4 separate regions of the Homo sapiens genome follow, and regions 2, 3 and 4 are each linked to region 1. The links are contacts of gene promoters, found by promoter capture Hi-C in blood cells and fetal thymus (Javierre and others, 2016). All regions are on one chromosome and are shown on one strand. The core of a region is centred on a gene start or on the middle of the fragment in contact, and the rest is flanking DNA. Distances in the headings are between cores, read along the strand shown.

The links. Contacts are between HindIII fragments. The CHiCAGO score rates a contact against its expected background, and 5 or more counts as called.
Region 2: a fragment that was not itself captured here is called in contact with the fragment with the promoter of PLEK2 in region 1 in 1 of 17 cell types (total B cells); the score reaches 6.3 in total B cells.
Region 3: a contact is called between a fragment that was not itself captured here and the fragment with the promoter of PLEK2 in region 1, in 1 of 17 cell types (M0 macrophages). The highest score is 5.6, in M0 macrophages.
Region 4: a fragment that was not itself captured here is called in contact with the fragment with the promoter of PLEK2 in region 1 in 2 of 17 cell types (M0 macrophages and erythroblasts); the score reaches 6.2 in M0 macrophages.

What each region holds. Positions count from the first base shown.
Region 1 is chr14:67,410,765-67,413,539 of GRCh38, forward strand. PLEK2 (pleckstrin 2) reads right to left here and starts at 1,401. Exons shown (of 9, transcript NM_016445.3): 1 at 1,254-1,401. The coding sequence starts at 1,295. It also overlaps a transcript of GPHN not described here. The HindIII fragment of the contact is 5,074 bases long and covers 1-2,775 here.
Region 2 is chr14:67,735,727-67,738,501 of GRCh38, forward strand. It overlaps a transcript of ZFYVE26 not described here. Among named protein-coding and RNA genes, the nearest start is that of RDH12, 35 kb to the left of the region's middle. The HindIII fragment of the contact is 2,027 bases long and covers 327-2,353 here.
Region 3 is chr14:67,712,810-67,715,584 of GRCh38, forward strand. The region is part of intron 1 of RDH12 (retinol dehydrogenase 12); the gene reads left to right. It also overlaps a transcript of GPHN not described here and the pseudogene RPL21P9. Among named protein-coding and RNA genes, the nearest start is that of RDH12, 12 kb to the left of the region's middle. The HindIII fragment of the contact is 1,428 bases long and covers 637-2,064 here.
Region 4 is chr14:67,693,089-67,695,863 of GRCh38, forward strand. It overlaps RDH11 (retinol dehydrogenase 11), which reads right to left and starts at 2,676. Exons shown (of 7, transcript NM_016026.4): 1 at 2,542-2,676. The coding sequence starts at 2,615. It also overlaps a transcript of GPHN not described here. RefSeq lists a silencer at 1,784-1,843 and an enhancer at 2,193-2,775. The HindIII fragment of the contact is 2,064 bases long and covers 400-2,463 here.

The DNA of each region.
Region 1 (2,775 bases), core at 151-2,650:
AGTAGAAGAACCAGAAAGCTCAGCCCTGGATTTATATGTCTCTTTGCTATGCCATCATAGCAGTATAAATGGTTAGTGTTAATGTCATTGTTCAAATTACGCTCTGTGTGGTGGCTCACGCCTGTTATCCCAGCACCTTGGGAGGCTAAGGTGGGCAGATGACTTAAACCCGGGAGTTCAAGACCTGCCTGGGAAACATGGCGAAACCCTGTCTCCACAAAAAAATACAAAAATTAGCTGGGCATAGTAGTGGATACCTGTAGTCCCAGCTACTAGGGAAGCTGAGGTGAGAGGACCACCTGAGCCTGGGAAGTCGAGGCTGTGGTGAGCCAGGATTGTGCCACTGCACTCCAGCCTGGGTGACCCTGTCTCAAAAAAAAAAAAAAAAAAAAAAGGTCAAATCAGGAAAAAATTTTGAAATAACAAACTTCCTTTTGCAGCTGCTCTTTTGTTCATCTTCTACCATAATCCCAGGCACTGAGTTTTTGTTTGCACTCGTTTGCCCTGGGCCACCTGGGGTGGTGGGGAAGGACTGAGGAGGGGAGGTCAGAACATGCAGTTCCTGTCCCAGCTATTACTGGCTCTGGAGCTCTGGGCAAGCTACTTCATCTTTCTGGTCCTCAGTTTCCCCGTCTGTAATAGAGTGATGTCAGTACCCACCGTGTATGGCACTGGGGAGGCAGTAAAGGTTTGGGTCAACCTGAGTGGGTCTGATCCCGATCCTGGCTCCACCACCCACTGCCTTCACCGCCCCGAGCAAGTTCCCTAACTCCTCTGGGCTTCGTTTTCCCCCTTGATGAAAGCAGGGCTGCTGGGAGGATGACATGAGACAATATCCAGGGCTGGCCAACAGTAAGTGCTTAAGACACATAGTAGCATTCCTCCTTCACAGGTTGTAAATTACAGAGCACGCCTATATTATCTTAGTAAATATTATTTAAATATCATACCATTCATAATATTTTAACAAGTTTTAATTAAGACACACGCTTCAGTACCCCTGCCCCGACTCCATACTGCGCTAACCAAGTGGGATTCTCCTCCTTGCCTGTGCGCTGAGCCACCGCTTACCCCGCGTCCCCTCGGACATGCAGCTCTGCCCATCAGGGCCACAGGCGGCCCGGTCCCACCATGGGGGTTGGGGATGGGAACCAGAGCATGCCCGTTCCGGGGCGCGCGTCTGGCCCCGCTCTAGGGAGCCGCGTCGGCGGGGCCCCACCCGGGCAATGTCCCGAAGCTCGACGCGCACTCACCCTCTTGACCAGGAAGCCCTCCTTGAGCACGCCGTCCTCCATGTCGCCGCCCGCACGCCAGGGCCACCCCAGGTGCGCCTTCCCCGCGCCTCGCGCTCCTCGGCACCCGCGCAGCCCGCGCAGTCCGCGCCCACGGCGCCCAGGAAGCAGCTCCGACGCGGCAGGGCGACGCCTCCCTGGCGCGTGTCCAGAGCCTGAGGCCCCGGGGCAGGAAGTCAGACCAAGTCGGGATTTCTGACGTGACGTTTCCACCCAAAGGTGCTCCAGGGTCGGTGGTTGGTCCTCCAGGTACAGAGCGGCCAACCCCGCCCCATCCAGGTGCGCCCCGCGCCCCTCACTGTTCCAGTCTCTCTGCTCAGCGTCCTTCGCCAGGTGCTTCCCGGGCACTTAGCGCATTGCCCTCGAGGAACGCTTATCGAATTGAACATAACCGACAGGACTCCAGGATTTGGAGCCATTCCTGAGCTCATTGCAAGTAGGAGATGGGACAGTGGGTGAGCCGAAACTGGTATGGGAATTTTATCCTGGCCTCTGATGGGGGCAGAGAAGACCTCTCAGTAACAGGAAGGTCACAGTTTTAAGGCGGCAGGCACAGTTTGCAGGGCCCCCTGTCCGCAGGATATACCCCGCTCCCTCAAAAAAGATGAAGCCGAAAATTCCATCATTAAGGACAAAATTTAAGGGGGCACCAAGGAGTCCAGTAACCTAGACAAATTATATATAGAGAGAGATGATTGGTTTTTTGGGGTTTTTTGTTTGTTTTTTGAGACAGGGTCTTTCTCTGTCACCCAGGCTGGAGTGCAGTGGTGTGATCATAGCTCACTGCAGCCTTAAACTCTGGGCTTAAGATCCTCCTGCCTCAGCTCCCCAAGTAGCTAGGACTACAGGAGTGCACCACCATGCCTGGCTGGTTTATTTTTATTTTTCGTAGAGATAGGGTGTTGCTATGTTGCCCAGGCTGGTCTTGATTCCTGGCCTCAAGCAATCCTCCGGCCTGGGCTTCCCAAAGTGCTGGGATTACAGGCAAGAGCCACCGTGTAAGACCTAGAAAAATAATATTTTAATGCATTTTTTAAAATCAAAATTAATGTCAAAAAATCCACGATGAACAAAATGCTAACATTTTAAATAGATAGGATCAACAACAATGTTCTATCAGGCCATATTGGAGCCTGGAACAGAAGGAAACTCAGTCAAATAGTACTGATTCTGTCTAACAATCCTTAGAACACAGTCACACATTTTTTTAAAATTTATTTTTATTTATAGAGACAGGGTCTCACTATATTGTCCAGACTGGTCTCGAACTCCTGGGCTCAAGCAGTCCTCCTGCCTCAGCCTCCCAAAGTGCTGGGATTGTGGGCATGAGTCATGGGGCCGGTCCATATTATTTGTGCTCCAGTTTGAAGGGCCCTGTCAGGACTCTTCACCAGGCATGGGAAAGGCCCTCAGATGCCTGTAAGGGAAGAGAAGGCTCTAGAGAGGAAGAAGGTGAACCAGCTTGTGGAAGGCGGGGGGTGCC
Region 2 (2,775 bases), core at 90-2,589, 320 kb after region 1:
CTCTGACACCCTTAGCTAATCTAGCCTGGGGTGGAAAATCTTTTTCTTTTGGCTCAGCTGAGACTGTCCTAATTTCCTAAAAATAACACTTCAATGGGAAACTAAAGGAAAAGGAAATCAAAGAGACATATGAAACTCAAGAAACAAACAGTTTCAGAGCACCGATTTCCTAGGTGGTGACTAGCTGCCACAGATTACCTTGGGTGGCACTTGGCCCTTGTCCAACTCAACTTCGTATACAATGTTGCCATGCGTCCCAAGCTCAGGAGGATATACCTTGTGTATTTGGTCTCTTTTAGTTATAAGATGGACACTCAGTTTGAGCAAGCTTAAGTCCCAAACCATGCAATATTTTGCTCATAAACTCAAGGAAGGGTTGAAACTGGAAAGTGGGAATGGGCAGAGATGTATCTTAGAAATAACTAGAACTCAAGCGCCAAGCAACACCAGACTCCTCTCCCTCTACCATTGAAGAGTTCCTGCAGCCATTTCCTATTTTTAGAATTTAAAAAATTCCAGGTTTGGCTTGGGTCAAATGCTCACTGTGAAGCATTCAACTGTAGTTGGGTATTGGGTATTGAAACGTCTCTTCTACGGCTATCATATTCTCATATATGCTATTTTGATATCGCTATCATATTTTCATATTGTAGAAGAGGCATTTCAAATCAGTCAGAAAAACATAGACAATGTCATAAGTGGTGCTGGACAAATAACTATCCAAATGAAACATAAAGTTAGATTCTTTGCCTCACACCATGCATACAAATGAGTACTATGTGGACTAAAAGGCAAAAAAAGTTGTGAAAATATTAGAAAAAAATATAGAAGAATATCTTTATGCCCTTGGAAGAGGGATAGCATTCTTAAGACATGAAAAGCAAAAAGCATATGGGAAAAGAGGAATACATCCAAAAAGCATACCTCAAACAAAGTTCAAAGTCAAGTGATAATGGTGAACATATTTGAAATTGTTTTACGTTATGTATTCTAGAAAACGGACTTCGAGATACAGACATTTGCACACAGCAAATTTATTAGGAGGACTGTTAGGATTGGTATCTATAGGGGAGTGAGAGAAGCGGGACAGGGCAGAGGGTGAAGTTGATCTGCGATGCAGTCACACTAAAGGGTTAGGTGATCCTGTTCCACAGAGAGCTCTGGAGCTGAGCTGTCTTGAATTGAGGAAAGGAGGTTGGTCTTTAAACACCCGCAGTGACCAGTAATTGGGTGTGGGCAGCTTCCAGGGAGGGGGCATGACCTGGGTGAGGGCAAGTTCTAGATAAAAACTCAGCTGAGAGTTGGCAGCTGTGTACATTTCCAGCATCTGGGAGAATAAGTGCTTCATTTCTTTTTCTTTTCTTTTTTTTTTTTTTTTTTTCGGTAGAGACAAGGTCTCTCTCTGTTGCCCATGCTGGCCTTGAATTCCTGGGCTCAAGCAATCTTCCTGTCTTGGCCTATCAAAGTGCTGGGATTACAAGCATGAGCCACTATGCCTAGCTGTATGCTTCATTTCTAAAGGGAGTATATTAGTCTATTCTCACACTGCTATAAAGATCCTACCCAAGACCGGGTAATTTATAAAGAAAAGAGGTTTAATTGGCTCATACTTCCACATGGCCGGGGAGGCCTCAGGAAACTTACAATCATGGTGGAAGGTGAAAGGGAAGCAAGGCACATCTTCATAAGGTGGCAGGAGAGAGAGAGAGTGCAGGGGAAACTGCCACTTTTAAAACCATCAGGTCTCATGAGAACTCTCTCACTATCACGAGAAGACAATGGGGGAAACCACCCTCATGATTCAGTCAACTCCCACCAGGTCCCTCCCTCAACACATGGGGATTACAATTTGAGATGAGATTTGGGTGGGGACACAGAACCAAACCATAGGAGGGAATCTGGGTGGTGCAACACAGCATCTGCTGCAGATGTATATGTATATATGACCTATCTTATATTTACATAGATAATATGTATCACACAAAAGAGTAGTACCCATATTTTTATTCATTTTTCTTTCGACTTGGGGTCTCGCTTTATTGCCCAGGCTGATCTCAAACTCCTGGACTCAAGTGATCCTCCCACCTTGGCCTCCCAAAGTGCTGGGCTTACAGGTGTGAGTCACCACTCTCAACTTATTATCATATAAAGAACTTCTACTTCTCAATAAGAACAAGACACAGAACCCAACAGAGAACTTTGCAAAAGTTATAAATAGGAAATTTTCAGAAGAAACGCAAATGGCCAATGTACCTAAGTCAAGATATTTAACCTGACCAGTGATCAGAGAACTGCAAATTAAAACAAGATGCCATTATACCATTTTAAACCATCACATTGTCAAAAATTTGAAAGCTTAGCAAATATTGGCAAAAATATAGAAAAATAGATATTTTTATACACTGCTGCTATGAGTGGAAGAAATGGTGGAGCCATTTCTACCAGCAATTCAGCTTCTTAATATCTGCAGTAACATTAGCCTATGTATGTAAAGAGGAGGCATTGTTCATATTAGCAAAAAAATGGAAATAGCCTAAAAGTCCATCAGTTGGCGAAAAACTAATCTGTGGTATGATTATACAATCTGACATGATTATATAATAATTATATACTAATATACTTATATATACTAATATACTTATAAATATATACTTATAAAATATATACTTATAGAAATATACTTATATACTTATAAATAATTATATACTAATCTCTGTATGATTATATGATGAAATAATTATTTTGGAGTAGTTATTCCAAAAATCATTATATTAA
Region 3 (2,775 bases), core at 101-2,600, 300 kb after region 1:
ATTGCTTTCAGTTGGCAGCTAGCAAAAAGGTGGCCTTGTTATGAAAATAAAGCCCCTTTAGTAATCAAAATAAAAAAATGTTCCCTTCTCTTTTTTTTTTCTTTTGCTGGCCATTTTTCTCCTACACCACCCTTTTTTGTGTGTGGGAATTTAACCACTTCAGAGGACTTATTCCCCATAATTTGGAACTTTCCTTTGGATTTGATCAAGTTGGATAGAATTGATGAAACCCAACAGGAAAAAGACTGAAACAACAATAAAAACAGAAATAAACAATGGCACAACTTATATGATCACTGAGCACTCTAATGGTAAGCAGAAATTAAAACCAGCTTTTTGTTAACTTTAGCCAAGACAAAACCTCAATTCAGCTACATACCTAGGGATGGGTCTCAGGCTGAAAACAACTCTCTACCATCCTAGAAGCAGGAAAAACAAACAAACAAACAAACAAACAAAAAACAAAACAAAAAAAAACCTCATTTTCCCTATTGGAAGTGAGCTCAAACTCCATAAAGGAGTTACCTGCTTTCCATCGTCATGGAAGCAGAAAAACTTGCCTTTCTTGTTGAAAGCAAGTAAAACTCCAAAAAAAAAAAAAAAAAAAAAAAAAAAGAGGGGATGTACAGCAAAATAAGCTTTAGATCTTGACCAAATTTTGGGACATCAGGGATTCTCTGGAGGGGATATTCCCAGACCTCAGCAAATTGTCCTGTTGGTTTGAGCCATAAAGTTAGCTCATGCTGGTACCAGGCACTGATAGGAGATTTGTCAAAGGTCAGGGGCATCTCCATTGAGAATCCTTTTGTGGTTAACAAAATGTAAACCCAGAAAATTTGAGACAGGTCTCAGTTAATTTGTAAAGTTTATTTTGCCAAGGTTGAGGGCGCGTACCCAAGACACAGCCTCAGGAGGTCCTGACGACATGTGTCCAGGATGGTCAGAGCACAGTTTGGTTTTATACATTCTAGGGATACGTGAGACATCAATCAACATATGTAAAATGAACATCGGTTTGGTCTGGAAAGGAGGGACAACTCGAAGCAGGGAGGGGGCTTCCAAGTCACAGGTAGGTGAGAGAAAAACAGCTGCATTCTTTTGAGTTTCTGTTTAGCCTTTTCAAAGAGGCAACCAGATATGCATTTATCTTAATGAGGAGAGGTATGACTTTGAATAGAATGGGAGGCAGGTTTGCCCTAAACAGTTCCCAGCTTGAATTTTCCCTTTAGCTTAGTGATTTTGGGGGCCCAAAATGTTTCCTTTCACAGTAGCAACTATTAGATTTAAAAAAATTGTAATTTCCTATTTACTTTTTTCTTGTAATTAACTTCTTGCTTTACTTTTGAGACAGGGTCTTGCTCCGTCTCCCAGGCTGGAGTGCAGTGGTGTGATCACAGATCCCTGCAGCCTCCACCTTCAGGGCTCAAGTTCTCCTCCTGCCTCAGCCTCTTGAGTAGCAGGGACTGTAGGAGTGCACTCCATGGCCAGCTAATTTTTTTTTCATTTTTTTAGTAGAGCTGAGATCTGATTATGTTGCTCTTGGTCTCAAACTCCTTGCCTCAATAAATCCTCCTGCCTTGGCCTCCCAAAATGCTGGGATTACAGGTGTGAGCCTCTGTGCCCAGCTTTGTTTTATTTTTGTACCTAATATTTACTCATAGTTTTATATTCTTTTTATTAAAAAGAGTTCCCTAGCCTTTCAGAAGGAACTGCCGTCTTCCAGTTATTCTCCAAAATGAGGAACACTAAGGGAAAGAGGAGGGACACCAATATATGTTCTCTAGGCCTTTTAGAAAACATGGAGTTGTTCCTTTGGCCACAACCATGCAAATCTACAAGAAAGGTTATGTTGCAGACATCAAGGGAATGGGAACTGTTCAAAAATGCCCCACACATGTTATCATGGTATTAGGGACTGAAATGGGATATAAGTTGAAAAGAGACTAAGGGATTTTTGAAATTAAATGTTAGGCAATTTTTAAAAATAAAAGAGGGCCAATAAGCCCAGGCCTTACACCTGCACTGTGGTGAGGTGCTCAAGATTGCAGAGGCAAACCTGTGCAAAGCTTCTGCCAACTCAAGGCATTCACTGAATGCCCCACACATGTTACCACGGCAAAACTGGAAGAGCCTATCAACAGTGTTCTTGGACACAAACAAATTAAAGGCAAGATTCTTGCTGAGAGAATTAATGTGTTTATTGAGCATATTAAGCAGTCTAAGGGCCAAGATAACTTCCTGAAGCATGTAAAGGAAAAGGATCAGAAAAAGAAGGAAGCAAAAGAGAAAAGTACCTGAAGTGCCAGCCTTCTCCACTTTGTGAAGCTCACTTTGTGAGAACCAATGGAAAGAAGCCTAAGTTGCTTGGAACCTATTCCCTACGAATTCATAGCATAATAGCCGTTAAAAAATAAAAGGGGGGGAGCCCCCTAAATTGAATAGACTTCAGGCCCTACAATATCCAGATCTACTTCTGATGATGTTTTATTTCATAAGCTGGGCAGTAAGTCATGCTGAGTATTCTTTAAATGATTCTCTATATTATTTGGTTTACTCCAAACAGAAAATAGCAAAACATTTTGTCTAAGAGGCATTTCTTTATCTGTCCTTGTCCTGATGTTGGATGCCTATGACTTCACCGATTGCTGTAAGCCCTTGAGTTGGCAGAAGCTTTGCACAGCTTTGCCCCCTGCCATCCTGAGCACCTCACCACAGTGCAGGCGTAAGGCCTGGGCTTATTGGCCCTCTTTTATTTAAAAAAATTTCCCAACATTT
Region 4 (2,775 bases), core at 182-2,681, 280 kb after region 1:
TCTACTGTCTCAGCCAGTAGGTTCCTGCAACTCCCTGTGTCTTCTGGCTGAGGTTTGCTTTAGTTCTTTCCACTGTTGTCCTTTTAAGGAAACAGTGTCCATTTAAGGAAAGTTGGAGGAAAGATGACAAAAGTTTTCTGCTTTTGCTCAAAGACAAAAGTGATTCTATTACAAGGGCAAAGCTTACAGCTGTTCTCTGCAGCACAAGAACTGGATGAATACCTGCTTAGCCAGGCACCTGGCTTTGGTTTGAGCTCTCTAAGGCACTTGTGACTTAGGAAATCACAAGATTCAGCCCAGAAGAAGAAATAACTAGTTTCTGTAGGTCAATCTGTCCACAACTGGCATTTTATGGCCTTGAGAAATGGCTAATCCAATACAAAAAGTTAAAATTATGAAAGCTTGTGACTCTGGGACAAAATAAACAAGAAAAAAAAAACACACCCACACGCATGCACATACACACTTAAAACAAAGAGAAGATTATGTATGTACAAAGGGGAGCTGGGATTCAAGTCTTGCTTTGTGTAATTAGAGTCCTTGTTTCTTTCTTTCTCTTTCTCTTTTTTTTTTTTTTGAGACAGAGTTTTGCTCTTGTTGCCCAGGCTGGAGTGCAATGGTGTGATCTCGGCTCACTGCAACCTCCACCTCCACTGCAACCCCCATCTCCCAGGTTCAAGCGATTCTCATCCCTCACCCCCTCACCCATGCGCCACCACGCCCAGCTAATTTTTGTATTTTTAGTAGAGACAGGGTTTCACCACGCTGGCCAGGATGGTCTCGAACTCCTGACCTCAGGTGATCCGCCCACCTCAGCCTCCCAAAGTGCTGGGATTACAGGTGTGAGTCACCAAGCCCAGCCTAGAGTGCTTGTTTCTAAGTACTATACTATATTGCCTTTTCCAAATGAATGAATGCACAAACACAGATTGGTGGTTCTCAGACTGGCCTATTCTCTTCTTGGCAATGTTGGGACTCTGGTTAAAACAATCTGTTGACCAGGAGATGCATTCTTAAAGAGCATTTCAGCCTTTTTCATTGAACTTGGAATTGCAAGGTACATACTCTTAGCCATTGAAGCTACCTGCATAGTGCGAAAATGCTGACAGGGAGGCAGATTAACTCATGGTCCCCACAAACCATCACCTCCCTCCTCAGAAAACAAGCCTCTAGGCTGTTTCCCACATCCCCTTACTGTATGTAGCTCCAGGAGTGACAACTTAGTAGGACCTGTACTTAGTTCTTTCTTCTCCTTAACCAGCAGGAATGAAAGAGACAACTATAAAAGTCCAGCTCTGGCCCGACTCCCATAACCCTGCTGAGTTGGGAATACAGCTCCTGGAATATATATATATATATATATACACACACACACACATATATATATATACACACACACACATATATATATATATATACACACATATATTTTTTTTTTTTCCAGAAAAATCCCTCTGGGGTATGAGCACTATTTTCAGTTCTGGTTCAACTTTTCATTGAGATTCTATGTGGATAAGAGGATCTTGTAGTGAAAAAAAGATAAAAAGCAGTGTTTTCATCTGAGTGTGAGAAACCATGTGTGCCTAGAGGTGGGAGAACTGAGTGTTCAGAAGGCAGAAAAAATATAACTGGAAGAGGGGCACCAGAGAAGGAAGAGAAAATAAAAATAAAAGAAGGAAAGTAGGTGACTGTGGTAAGAAATGACTGTGATCTGGCCTGGCTTCAAGTTCTATTGGGACTAAGACCGCCCACCTGGGGAAGGAGTGTGTCTGTCTATTCAGTCACTGGTCCGTCACCACTGGTGATTTACTTAGAACCAATAAGCAGGCTGCCGGTTTTACAGCCCGCTGCTGATTCACTGGGGCACTTGGCCAGCCTTGGGCTGATTGATCTATCACCTGGTCAATACCTTCCCACCATTCTCCCAGCCCTCACCGCCCCAGTACCCTAGCTCCTAACTCAGATCCCCCGTGCTCCTGCTCGCAAGGCAGGATAGAGCTCATAACCAAACACTCTTCCTTTTCACTTTTCTCCTTTACAACATCCGCCCACAGAACAAGCGATTGTAACAGCAACGAGAGAGCAAGGATGGGGCCGCAGATGTTACGATTGCTATCAGTTTCAGAGGGCGAAATGTGGAATCGCTCCTTTGTACCTCGAAGGCTGGTTTAAGGCGTGGGGAATAAGGGGAAAACAGCGTCGGGCCATATCCCATTGAAGAGTCCGAAACTCAAGCGTTTGAGGTAGCCTTACCCTCGGGATTCCCTGGAGCCAGAATCAGGGGGTGCTTAGACAAAAGAAAAACAGGCCAGGGAAAAGCAGTGTGCCCCGGACTGCCGCCCTTTCTCACCGCCTGGGGTCTCGGGTGTCCTCCTGGCACCCAGGACAGCTGGACCTCGCCTCCAACCCACCGAACTCTGGGCTCCGCCATCTTGGAGCCCCCCCAGGGGAGTTTTCCAAGAAAGCTTTGGTGGGGATTCTATGTTTCCCTCCCGCCCCGCAACAAGAATTCTCAAGAGAAGGCAATACATTTGCACAGACCTGATTTGGGGCGCAGCCATATACAGAAGGAAGGGCAGAAGGAGGAGCAACAGCGGGAACATGAGCTCAACCATCTCTGCCGGCTGCAGCGGCACCAGAGCGGGATGCTCCAGCGTTGCTCGCCGACTATGGCTTCTCTTTCTAGACACGCCCCAATTCAAATTGCGACAGCCCGGGGAGCAGACCTTCTGGGAAATGTAGTCCAGAGCTTGACAGCCTCAGGCTGGCTACGTG